4 separate regions of the Homo sapiens genome follow, and all the other regions are linked to region 1. Evidence: promoter capture Hi-C in human tissues and cell types (Jung and others, 2019). All regions are on one chromosome and are shown on one strand. Each heading gives the region's core, a stretch centred on a gene start or on the middle of the fragment in contact. The rest is flanking DNA. Distances are from core to core; before and after follow the strand shown.

Evidence for each region. The method cuts DNA at HindIII sites, captures the fragments that hold promoters and counts their contacts. A contact is called where the count stands out against the background at its distance.
Region 2: a contact is called between a fragment that was not itself captured here and the fragment with the promoter of USP29 in region 1, in 1 of the 25 tissues and cell types used here (dorsolateral prefrontal cortex).
Region 3: a contact is called between a fragment that was not itself captured here and the fragment with the promoter of USP29 in region 1, in 1 of the 25 tissues and cell types used here (neural progenitor cells).
Region 4: a fragment that was not itself captured here is called in contact with the fragment with the promoter of USP29 in region 1 in 3 of the 25 tissues and cell types used here (adrenal gland, dorsolateral prefrontal cortex and spleen).

What each region holds. Positions count from the first base shown.
Region 1 is chr19:57,118,449-57,121,406 of GRCh38, forward strand. It overlaps USP29 (ubiquitin specific peptidase 29), which reads left to right and starts at 1,537. Exons shown (of 4, transcript NM_020903.3): 1 at 1,537-1,781. The HindIII fragment of the contact is 14,839 bases long and covers 1-2,958 here.
Region 2 is chr19:57,589,607-57,592,564 of GRCh38, forward strand. It overlaps ZIK1 (zinc finger protein interacting with K protein 1), which reads left to right. Exons shown (of 4, transcript NM_001010879.4): 4 at 405-2,958. The coding sequence ends at 1,669. Among named protein-coding and RNA genes, the nearest start is that of ZIK1, 6.9 kb to the left of the region's middle. The HindIII fragment of the contact is 6,497 bases long and covers 1-2,958 here.
Region 3 is chr19:57,568,419-57,571,376 of GRCh38, forward strand. No RefSeq gene overlaps it. Among named protein-coding and RNA genes, the nearest start is that of ZNF416, 9.0 kb to the right of the region's middle. The HindIII fragment of the contact is 3,705 bases long and covers 1-2,958 here.
Region 4 is chr19:57,383,441-57,386,398 of GRCh38, forward strand. No RefSeq gene overlaps it. Among named protein-coding and RNA genes, the nearest start is that of ZNF548, 4.9 kb to the right of the region's middle. The HindIII fragment of the contact is 6,124 bases long and covers 1-2,958 here.

The DNA.
Region 1 (2,958 bases), core at 287-2,786:
AGGCAACAGTTTCACATGACTAGCAAAGGAAACCGTTGAAATCGCTGCGTAAGCTAGGGGCGGATAAGACTCTGAAAACCAGGGTGTGGGCCAAGCTGGCTAAAGCCGACTGGACCCAACATGGTGCTGGATTCGACCCGTTTCACCTAGGACCTCTCATTATGTGCTCATTAACATACTAAGTCACACACCCACTGTGACAGCTCTGGGGAACACCCGTATTTAGTATAAAAATGTGTGGCACCGCAGTACCAAGAAATGTTTACCTTTTTCCAAGAATCTTCATGAATATTCCACCCCTTGGTTAAATAAATATTTAAAGGTAGCTCCAAACCCCGCTGGGCGTGATGCTCTGTGGTATGCCTGCACTTTTCTTTCTTCAGTACGTACTTATTCCCGTCGCAATGAATCTCCACACTTTGTTCTGCTCATCCATGAATTCCTTCTCACGACAGTGTCAAGAGCCTGGACACCAGTCAGGGTCGAGGCCTCACCAGCATCTTGGGGCCTCACTGGGCACAGACGCGTGAGCGCCCGGCCTGCAGACCTGACTCTGGCAGCCGCTCAGGCCCTCAGAGGGAGAGATGGAAGCTGGCAGGACGCAGTTGCTACCGCGCGGACCCGGCCCCCGACCAGCCTTGGCCCCTCGCGCGCCGGGACAGGGCCACAAATGACTGCACCTGGGCTTCGCTGGCCCAGGCACCACGCGACTCTAAGCGCGCCCAAAGCGACCCTCTGCGCAAACTACCCCCGGGGACGACGTCACCCGTGAGGTCCCGCGGCGCCTCCTCCTAAAGCTCGGCTGGGAAACCGTCCGCTTCCCCAAGACTTGGGGGCTTGTGGCCGAGTTGTTTTAGTTTTCCTGTAGGATTCACGGGTGGCTGAGGCAAACACGCTTGAAGGCCTAAGACTTTTAAGTCTCTTCCGCACCCTCTCTTCTGTCTCTTCCACCTGGAGGATGACCGCTTTTTTGGGGGTTTTGTTGTTGTTTTGAGACGGAGTCTCGCTCTGTCGCCCAGGCTGGATTGTAGTGGCGCCATCTCCGCTCACTGCAACCTCCGCCTCCCGGGTTCAAGCGATTCTCCTGCCTCAGCCTCCCGAGTAGCTGGGATTACAGGCGCCCACCACCATGCCCGGCTGATTTTTGTATTTTTAGTAGAGACGGGGTTTCGCCACGTTGGTCAGGCTAATATCAAACTCCTGACCTCAGGTGATCCGCCCTCCTCGGCCTCCCAAAGTGCTGGGATGACAGGCGTGAGCCACCGCGCCCGGCCGGGATGACTGTTATTAACAATTCCCGGCGTGGTTTCTAGCACCAGCCCACCTACCACACCCCACCTCGCTTGAGGCTGAATGGGTAACAGGATGAACCCGCCCCTGGGCTGGTTTTCTCTGAACCCTAACTCCTGCCGTTACGCCCCACCAGCTCTAGGCCAGGAACTCTATGTGCCCCGGCCACGCTAGAGCCCGTACCTAGACCCGTAGGTCGGGAGGCCTGCGCCCGGCACTGCGCAGACGCAGCGTGCTGTGCCCAGAACTCTTCTGTTCCCAGGAGAATCAGGGGAGTCGGCGCCGGAAGGGGCGGGTCCGAGCTGAGATTTCCAGAGCCATGGGAGCCGGAAGTCCAAGGAACTGTACCTCCATCATGACGACTCCGGTTACGTAAAAACATTCAAACAGAAAATGCTGGCCAGGCTCATGCCTGTAATCCCAGCACTTTGGGAGGCCGAGGCGGGAGGATCGCTTGTGCCCAGGAGTTGGAGACCAGCCTGGGCAACATAGTGAGACCCTCCCCCCACCCATCTCTACAAAAAATTTTAAAATTAGCTAGCTGAGATCATGCCACTGCACTCCAGCCTGGACAACAAAGTGAGACTATGTCTCAAAAAAATTTAAAAATTACCCACGCCTGTAGTGTCAGATAGTCAGGAGGCAGAGGTTGGAGGATGACTTGAGCCTTGGGGATCGAGGGTGTAGTGAGGTATGATCGCACCACTGCACTCCAGCCTGGGCAACAGAGCAAGACCCTGTCTCAAAAACTATATAAAAGAAAAAAGGGCTGGGTCGGTGGCTCACGCCTGTCATGCCAGCACTTTGGGAGGCCGAGGCGGGTAGATCACCTGAGGTCAGGAGTTTGAGACCAGCCTGACCAACAAGGTGAAACCCTGTCTCTACTAAAAATACAAAAATTAGCTGGCCATGATGGTGGGTGCCTGTAATCCCAGCTACTGGGGAGGCTGAGGCAGGAGAATCACTTGAACCCCAGAGGTGGAGGTTGCAGTGAGCCGAGATCACACCACTGCACTCCAGCCTGGGCGACAGAGCGAGAGACTCCGTCTCAAAAAAAAAAAAAAAAAAAAAAAAACAGAAAAAAGGCCGGGCACGGTGGCTCACTCCTGTAATTCCAGAACTTTGGGAGGCCAAGGCGGGCGGATCAGGAGTTCGAGACTGCCTGGGCAACATAGCGAAACCCCGTCTCTACTAAAAATACAAAAAATTAGCCAGGCGTGGTGGCGGGCTCCTGTAATCCCAGCTACTCAGGAGGCTTAGGCAGGAGAATCACTTGAACCCAGGAAGCAGAGGCTGCAGTGAGCCGAGATCACGCCATTAAACTCCAGCCTCGGTGACAGAGTGAGACTCCATCCCCGCTCCGCTCCCTCACCTCCCGCCAAAAAAAAAAAAGAAAATGCACTGCAATAGAAAAATAAAAGTACTACACTTTGGTCAAACAGGGTAACTACTAGAACGTAAAATGATCTTTTTGAAACTATCCACATTTGTTACACGTGTTGAAAATGTAGGATATATATGTTATATATATACTTATATATGTTATATATACTTATATATGTTATATACTTATATATGTTATGTACTTATATATTATATATACTTATATATGTTATATCTACTTATGTTATATACTTATATATGTTATATATACTTATATATGTTATA
Region 2 (2,958 bases), core at 206-2,705, 470 kb after region 1:
TACTCAGTTTCAATTGTATTTTCCTGGGCTTGGGCACAGTCAACCTTCTGCACAGCATGCAGGTGTCACCAGCAGACAAGGTCCTCCTGAAGACTATGTGGTGAGTTTTAGGAATTGGAAGGCTACTCAAGGATAATTTTTGAGGCTGTTGGTAGAGGAATGGTTTGAAGGCAATGCCATTCCCTGTCCTTCATCCCATCCTTGTGTCCTTTATTTGGTGAGGCCTCCCTCATTCTGTGATCTTTAGAGATCCAGTATTGCAAAGCAACCCCTTCCTCAACTTGCCCCCAGCTCCATTATCCTCAAAACAAACCTGGTGAATCATTCGTTTGGTATGTGTGTAATGGGGCTTCTTGCTCTCAGCATAGTCAATGTATATTTCATCAGCGGTTCTCTGCTTTCAGGTTGTGGCCATGGAACAGAGGATGAAGAGACACCTTCTGACCAGAATGTTTCTGTAGGAGTGTCACAGTCAAAGGCAGGTTCATCCACACAGAAGACTCAATCCTGTGAGATGTGTGTCCCAGTCCTGAAAGATATTTTGCATCTAGCTGATCTCCCTGGGCAGAAACCATACTTGGTTGGAGAATGTACAAACCATCACCAGCACCAGAAGCATCACAGTGCAAAGAAATCCTTGAAGAGGGACATGGACAGAGCCTCATATGTGAAGTGCTGCCTATTCTGTATGTCATTGAAGCCCTTTCGCAAATGGGAGGTTGGAAAGGACCTTCCAGCCATGTTGCGGCTTCTGAGGTCCCTGGTCTTTCCTGGAGGCAAGAAACCCGGCACAATTACTGAATGTGGGGAGGACATTCGCAGTCAAAAAAGTCATTACAAGTCAGGTGAATGTGGGAAGGCTTCCAGGCACAAACACACTCCTGTTTACCATCCAAGAGTCTACACTGGAAAAAAGCTTTATGAGTGTAGCAAATGTGGGAAAGCCTTCCGTGGCAAGTACTCACTTGTTCAGCACCAGAGAGTCCATACTGGAGAAAGGCCTTGGGAGTGCAATGAATGTGGAAAATTCTTTAGCCAAACCTCCCACCTGAATGATCATCGGAGAATCCACACCGGAGAAAGGCCTTATGAGTGCAGCGAATGTGGAAAATTATTTAGACAAAACTCCAGCCTTGTTGACCACCAGAAAATACACACTGGAGCAAGGCCTTATGAGTGTAGCCAGTGTGGGAAATCCTTTAGCCAAAAAGCCACCCTTGTTAAACACCAAAGAGTTCACACTGGAGAAAGGCCTTATAAGTGTGGTGAATGTGGGAATTCCTTTAGTCAAAGTGCCATTCTTAATCAACACCGAAGAATTCACACTGGAGCAAAGCCTTATGAGTGTGGCCAGTGTGGGAAATCCTTTAGTCAAAAAGCTACCCTCATTAAACACCAGAGAGTTCACACTGGAGAAAGGCCTTATAAGTGTGGTGACTGTGGGAAATCCTTTAGTCAAAGCTCCATCCTTATTCAACACCGGAGAATTCATACTGGAGCAAGGCCTTATGAGTGTGGCCAGTGTGGAAAGTCCTTTAGCCAAAAGTCTGGTCTCATTCAACACCAAGTGGTTCACACTGGAGAAAGGCCTTATGAGTGCAACAAATGTGGGAATTCCTTTAGCCAATGCTCCAGCCTCATACATCACCAAAAATGTCATAACACATAGAGGCCTCATGAATGCAGCAAATGTGGAAGCGCCTTCAACTCAAGATCTATCATCATTTAGCTCCTGAAAGTCCACACTTAAGTAGAGCCTTAGACCTACAGGGAAAGTGCTGTCTCTGTAGTATTGTAGCAGTAGAGAGCCTTTGTGAGGGAGCCATCTGCCTGAAGTTGAACCTCATTCTTCCTTGTTTCTCTGGTAGAAACCATCTACCCTCTACCACCTTGCACAGTGGGCACTGGTCACTCCTATGTGCTAAGACAAGGCAGACATCTGTGTGTTCTCTTAAGTCTTTGGAGGAAATCTTGAGCAGTCTAAGCCTTTAGAGAAAATTCATTCTTTTTTCTGACTGATCACAGCATACGTGTGACCCAGTTTGGGTCAGGAGGGCCCAGCCTTGGTTCTGCTGGACACTTATGTGCAAGGATTCCCTTCATGTAAATTCTTGGTCTCACATGACACTTGGTCATTCTTCCAGCCTCCATGTCACCACGTGGTGAATGGCTGCCTCACATTGCTCCAGTTTGTGCACTAATAAAAGCCTTATATTTGAATCTACCTGTAGTCTTGGGGTTCTGTTTACTGTGTGGGGTGGCTGGGAGACAGACTTCAACTCTATATGAAGGAATGGATGGCTTTTGTGGGCCTCTGCAGGAAAGTAAGATGACAGAGTAATTCTAATTCTGGTTTTGGTCATACTTGCTTTGCTACCTAAAATCTCCTAGGAAAAAATGCAAGGTTTTGGTTATTCTAATTTGTGGCCTGGATCCCTATTCTTTCTGTGAGACTAGAGGTCATCCTGAGGAGAGGCCAGCTGTTATGACAAGCATGTGTGCTTCAGGGAATAGGACAATTTTATTCCATTGTTTCCAGAGGATGTCATATGATGCCCAGTGCTGCTGAGAAGCTTTTCATGGGGTTCTATAAGGAGGCATGCCCTGATATCAAACATTCCATAGGCCGATGTCACGCAGAAGACAACGCGAGTCACATGTGAACTGTAATTGGTACAGAAATACCTGGGTATTTCTGTACTGTGTGTACTGTAGCAAACTAGTTGGAATGTGCCTCTTATAAAAGTACATTTACAAATCTTCCCGTGACTGTGGCTTTGAGCAGTCATAGGACCTAGAAATCTGTGTATGTCCAATAGCTGAGGTTATTTTCAGCAAAAATAATTAAAGGGTTTTATTTTTTAATTCTTGTTGGTTTTCTAGGTTGTTCACCTCAAGTGCATTGCTGTAGAGGCAGAAAAAGGAGGATAAAGATAACAGAAGTCCTATAGGCCAGGG
Region 3 (2,958 bases), core at 323-2,822, 450 kb after region 1:
TTTGGCAAATGCAGTTCTCAATAACACACTGGCATTAGATTATCTACTAGCGGAACAAGGTAAAGTCTGTGCAGTTAATAAAACCTGCTGCACATATATTAGCAACTCTGGATAGGTTAACATTCAAAAGATCTATAAGCAAGTGACCCTGTTATGTATATTTTCTTTGGCTCTTGCTTGTTTAACCTCTTAGTAAAGTTTGTGTTTTCTAGATCAATAGTCCCCAACCTTTTTGGCATCAGGGACCAGTTTCATGGAAGACAATTTTTCTATGGATGGGGTATGTGGGGCTGGGGCTGGGGGCTGGTCTCAGGATGAAACTCTTCCACCTCAGATCATCAGGTACTAGATTTTCATAAGGAGTGTGCAACCCCAGTCCCTTGCATGCACAGTTTATGATAAGGTTAGCACCCCTATGAGAATCTAATGCTGCCACTGATCTGGCAGGAGGTGGAGCTCAGGCAGTAATGCTCACTCACCTGCCACTCACCTCCTACTGTGCAGCCCAGTTCCTAACAGGACATGGACCAGTATCCACAGGAGAGGGGTTGGGGTATCCTGTTCTAGTTCCAGGTAAAGACAATGCTGGCACAAGGCTTCCAACCCATCCTTGTCTACTATTCCAGAGAATGGAAGTGTCCTTCCTTTGGGGACCTTATATGTGGTATCCAGGGATGTTTACTCCTTTAGTGCTAGGCAGGGCCTAGGCCCACAAAATCAGCAGCAAGCAGTCACAGAGCCCCCTTAAGATTAAAGAGGAGTATCTAATCTCTGATGGGAGAGTGAGATAGGAGGCAGGACTCCATACCAGACTGAAGACTGGCTGAAACAGGGAACAGGCACCAAGAGCATATCTACATAATACACACCCACCAGTGCCATGGCAGTTTACCATCACCATGACAACACCCGGAAATTACCATCCCTTTTCTAGAAATTTCCAAATAACCCACCCTTTGCATGTAGTTAAAAGCGGGTATAAATATGATTGCAGAGCTGCCCCCTGAGCTGATACTCGACACACTGCCTATGGGGTTGCCCTGCTCTGTAGGAGCAGCCACAGAGTTGTAACCCTGCTGCCTCAACAAAGCTATTTTCCATCTACCACTAGCTTGCTCTTGAATTCTTTCCTGAGTGAAGCCAAGAACCTTCTTGGACTAAGCCCCAATTTTGGGGCTCACCTGCCCTACAACGCCACCTGATGTCCTACCTCTGTGCTTTCTAAAACCATCTCCCTTACCACTGGAAGAATATAACTTAGGCCTCAGGAAATGAGGATAATTCATGCTGACATAAGGAGCTCTTTAAAAAATAAAAAAGCAGCTGGGCGCAGTGGCTCATGCGTGTAATCCCAGCACTTTGGGAGGCCGAGGCAGCTGGATCACCTGAGGTCAGGAGTTTGAGACAAGCCTGGCCAACGTGGTGAAACCTCATCTCTACTAAAAATACAAAAATTAGCCGGGTGTGGTGGCACACGCCTATAATCCCAGCTACTCAGGAGACTGAGGCAGGAGAATCGTTTGAACCTGGGAGGTGGAGTTTGTAGTGAGCCAAGATCATGCCACTGCACTCCAGCCTGGGCGAGAGTGAGACTCCATCAAAAAAAAAAAGAGGCAGCATTATATAATAAGATACCTGGGGGATATTGATGGACATGCTACCTTGGAGTCCTGCCTAGCTCAGCCCCTTCTTCGAGAATAATCCACTACCCACAGTCCTGTTAACCAATCTCTGGGGATACCTGACCCAACCAGGCTAGATCAAGTTTTCTTGCCTGAATTCTGGAATAAGGACCTCAGACAGAGGGCAGAGTGTGCTGGGCACTAGGGTGAGGATTTGTGTTTAAAGGGCTGTTTCTACCCCAGTGATCCCCAGTGCAGACACAGGGAGACCAGGCAAAAGCATGTGAGACCAAAACAGAGAATACAACAGGACCTGTGGGTAGAGGGAGAAGGGCTTGAGATGCCTTTCTCACCAGGCAGTATGTGCAAGAGGATGGAATCAGAGGACTAGGGTCACCCACATGGGACAGAAATAAAGCTTTACCCAGCAAGACCAAGAGCCCACAGTTCTGCAGCCTCACATCTTGGTGCAGTGTCCTCTGGGCCAGGCCCAAATATCCACATTTCTACCAGATGAAGGTCAGGGCCATGACCTTGAAAGGCACCAATGCCTGGCAAGTCAAACAGAAAGTTGACCTCAGACTGTTAGATATTAGAACCTATTGCTTGGTCACTGGGAAAGGCACAGAGAACCAGGACATCTGAGGGTTGAGCTCCATGTAGGGCACAAGGGTGAGGGACACTGCCTCTGAAAATAGGGTAACTGTGGCAGAGGATAAAGCCTATGATGGGGGATGTCATTTCCAAGTTAAGGTTTCTGCTACCCAGGCTCCTTCTGATTCTCTACCTCCCACATGTCCTCCTGCACTCACATTAAATCATCCCAAGTAATCCTCCAGGTTGCTTGCCTGGCTCCATGCTCTGACAATCATGCTGCAGAATGGAGCTGTTCCCTCTAAGCCAGGCTATGCCTACACTGTCACACCTTGTACAAGGAGATTGTGTGTGTTGTAAAAATAGACACAGCCAGTTACTAGATGTGTAGATGCACTTTTACCACAGGCACATTTGTTTTGCTATTACCTCCTCCACTTTCTATTAATCATACCCAAAATTTCTGTACCAATTATGTCCCATGCTTAGCTCCCATCAGCTTGAGTACCACCATCTATGGAATCATGGGCATCAGGGCACATAGGTTCCTTTGCAGAAGCTGGGAAAAAGCTTCGTCTCAACAGTGCTGGGCATTACAGCCTGTAGAACAATGCAATAAATCCATCTTATTCCCTAAAGCACAGGAGCCTGTCATAACAGCCGACTTGTCCTCAGGATGACCTCTGGTCCAGAGAAAGTGTAGGGATCCAGGCCATAAATTAGGACAACAAAATTCTTGCAT
Region 4 (2,958 bases), core at 289-2,788, 260 kb after region 1:
TTGAGATTTCTTGTTTTCTTAACTGGTCTTAGGTTGAAAATTGATTTTTCATTCTCCTCCCCGCTCCCCCCTCCCCCCACCATCCCATTCTTCTGCCTCTGCCGGATCTTCAGCTGGGTAGCATTTTGGTTTTGTTTGTTTTTTAACCTGGAGGATGTCCCCAAATATCAAAACCTAAACTTCTGATTCTTAGAAGTCCTCCCTTCGATGAGTTGCTAGTTTTATTTCTGAACATGAACTTACCAAAACATCCCCCAGAAATCCCCTGGTCTCAGACATAACTCTCTATGCTTCCCATTCCATGGCAGCAACTCAGCCTAACTCATCCAAAGCAAAAAAGCAATCCCTTCTTGCTTAAGTGACACAAGGATCCCCAGATGAACAAGTAGCTGTATCACCCTTCAATTAAATGTAATAATATTTACTTCTGGTGGAACCTCTCCTTCCTTGGAACAAAGGGCCCCCAACCAGCAGAATTTACAATTAAGAAGAAGTGGCCAGACACAGTGGCTCAAGCCTGTAATCCCAGCACTTTGGGAGGCCGAGGCAGGCAGATCATAAGGTCAGGAGTTCGAGACCAGCCTGGCCAACATGGTGAAACCCTATCTCTACTAAAGATACAAAAAATTAGCTGTGCGTGGTGGTGCGTGCCTGTAATCACAGCTACTCGGGAGGCTGAGGCAGGAGAATTGCTTTAACCCGGGAAGAGGGGGTTGCAGTGGGCTGAGATCATGCCATTGCACTCCAGCCTGGGCGACAGGGCAAAAAAAAAAATTAGCCGGGCATGGTGGCGGGCGCCTATAATCTCAGCTATTCAGGAGGCTGAGGCAGAAGAATCGCTTGAAGCCGGGAGGCAGAGGTTGCAGTGAGCTGAGATCGCGCCAATGCACTCCAGCCTGGGTGACAGAGCAAGATTCTGTCTCAAAAAAAAAAAAAGAAAAAAAGAAAAAAGAAGAAGGGTAGCAGAAATTCTGTGAATGAGTTACTAGGTTCAAAAATGAGGATGCTCAATATAATGCATAGGTTCAGAAAAAAATTACGATGAAAAGAATTGTCAAATTTTGTAACTGATACTTGACCTGGTTAAATTTGAATTATTTCTAATTCCCTATGTATATGTGCAGTGAGATAAAAGATAAATATTGTATGTGACATACTCATCATAAAATTATTTGTTGTTTATCTGAAATACATTCTAAATCAGGGGTCCCCAACCCCTGGGGCCACAGATGAGTACTATGGCCTGTTAGGAATGGGGCCATATAGCAGAGGGTGAGTGGCAGATGAGTGAGCATTGCTGCCTGATCTCCGCCTCCTGTCAGATCGGCAGCAGCATTAGATTCTCATAGGGGTGCAAACCCTACTGTGAACTGCACAAGAGAGGGATCTAGGTTGTATGCTCCTTATGAGAATCTAATGCCTCTGAAACCATCTGCCCCCAAACCCCTCTCCCTTATCCATGGAAAAATTGTCTTCCACAAAACCGGTCCCTGGTACTAAAAAGCTTGGGGATCACAGTTCTAATGACATAACTCTTTCCCTGATAATTTGCTTCTACTTAACAATTCCTTGTTTTATATAATTTGCTTACAGAATTCCTGCAGTTACAGTCTTGATGCCATTTATGTTGTGACAAACCTTCGTCATTTGTCATATTCAACTTATTTCATTCCTTTATCTATTGGACATTCATTAATGAGAAACACACTCAACAGTAGCATTCTGAGCCTAAAGACTCATGATGATAAACAGTGTAGAAAACATTACAAACTCTATTATAATTATTCTACCATCTCCATCTGATTTTAACAAAAAAGTTATTTTGTCTCTTTCTTTGGAACTAGTTGAGAAAATCATGCACCTTCCAAAGTTAATATATATTTGACTGTCCACCATTTTCATTAGTCAATGGGCAATTACATAGAGTCGAAGACCTTCAAAGGGAATTTTAAATACTCCTCAGTTCATCATAAATTATAAACTTGCATTTTGACATTTTTTGCATTCAATATACTCAAAATATAGACAATAGCAACTTCTACAAGAGTTGAAAAACATTGTGGGTACAGTGGCTCATGCCTGTAATCGCAGCACTTTGGGAGGCCTAGGCGGACAGATCACTTGAGGTCAGGAGTTCGAGACCAGTATGGCCAACATGGCGAAACCCCATCTCTAATAGAAATACAAAAAATTAGCCAGGCATGGTGCCACGCGCCTGTAATCCCAGCTACTTGGGAGGCTGAGGCATGAGAATCACTTGAACCTGGGAGCCAGAGGTTGCAGTGAGCCGAGATTGCGCCACTGCACTCCAGCTGGGTGACAGAGTGAAACTGTATCTTAAAAAAAAAAAAGAAAAGAAAGAAAAAAGAAAACACTGGAGAAAACGTTGGATTTTACAATGTATGTCTGGGTCAGTTAGTCTACCATTTCATATCCAAACTCATAACTAATTACAAACAGATGGAACCATTGAAAGCTTGCAAACTTTTAAATTATATTCATATAATTAAAATATAAGTAATAATTTATATTCAATTAAGAATAAATGGGGCCAGGCGTGGTGGCTCATGCCTGTAATCCCAGCACTTTGGGAGGCCGAGGCAGGCGGATCATGAGGTCAAGAGATCGAGACCATCCTGGCCAACATGGTGAAATCCCGTCTCTACTAAAAATACAAAAAAATTAACTGGGCGTGGTGGCGTGCATATGTAGTTCCAGCTACTTGAGAGTCTGAGGCAGGAGAATCACTTGAACCGGAGAGGCGGAGGTTGCAGTGAGCCGAGATCACACCACTGCACTCCAGCCCAGCGACAGAGTGAGACTCCGTCTCAAAAAAAAAAAAAAGAATAAATAGATTTTGATATCTCAAGGGAAAAAAAGTGATATTCCTATTTGTCTGCAGGGCAGAGCTGTAGTGGTCAGGCAGTCTCCTCAAACAAAGCCAAAACTGCTATTATA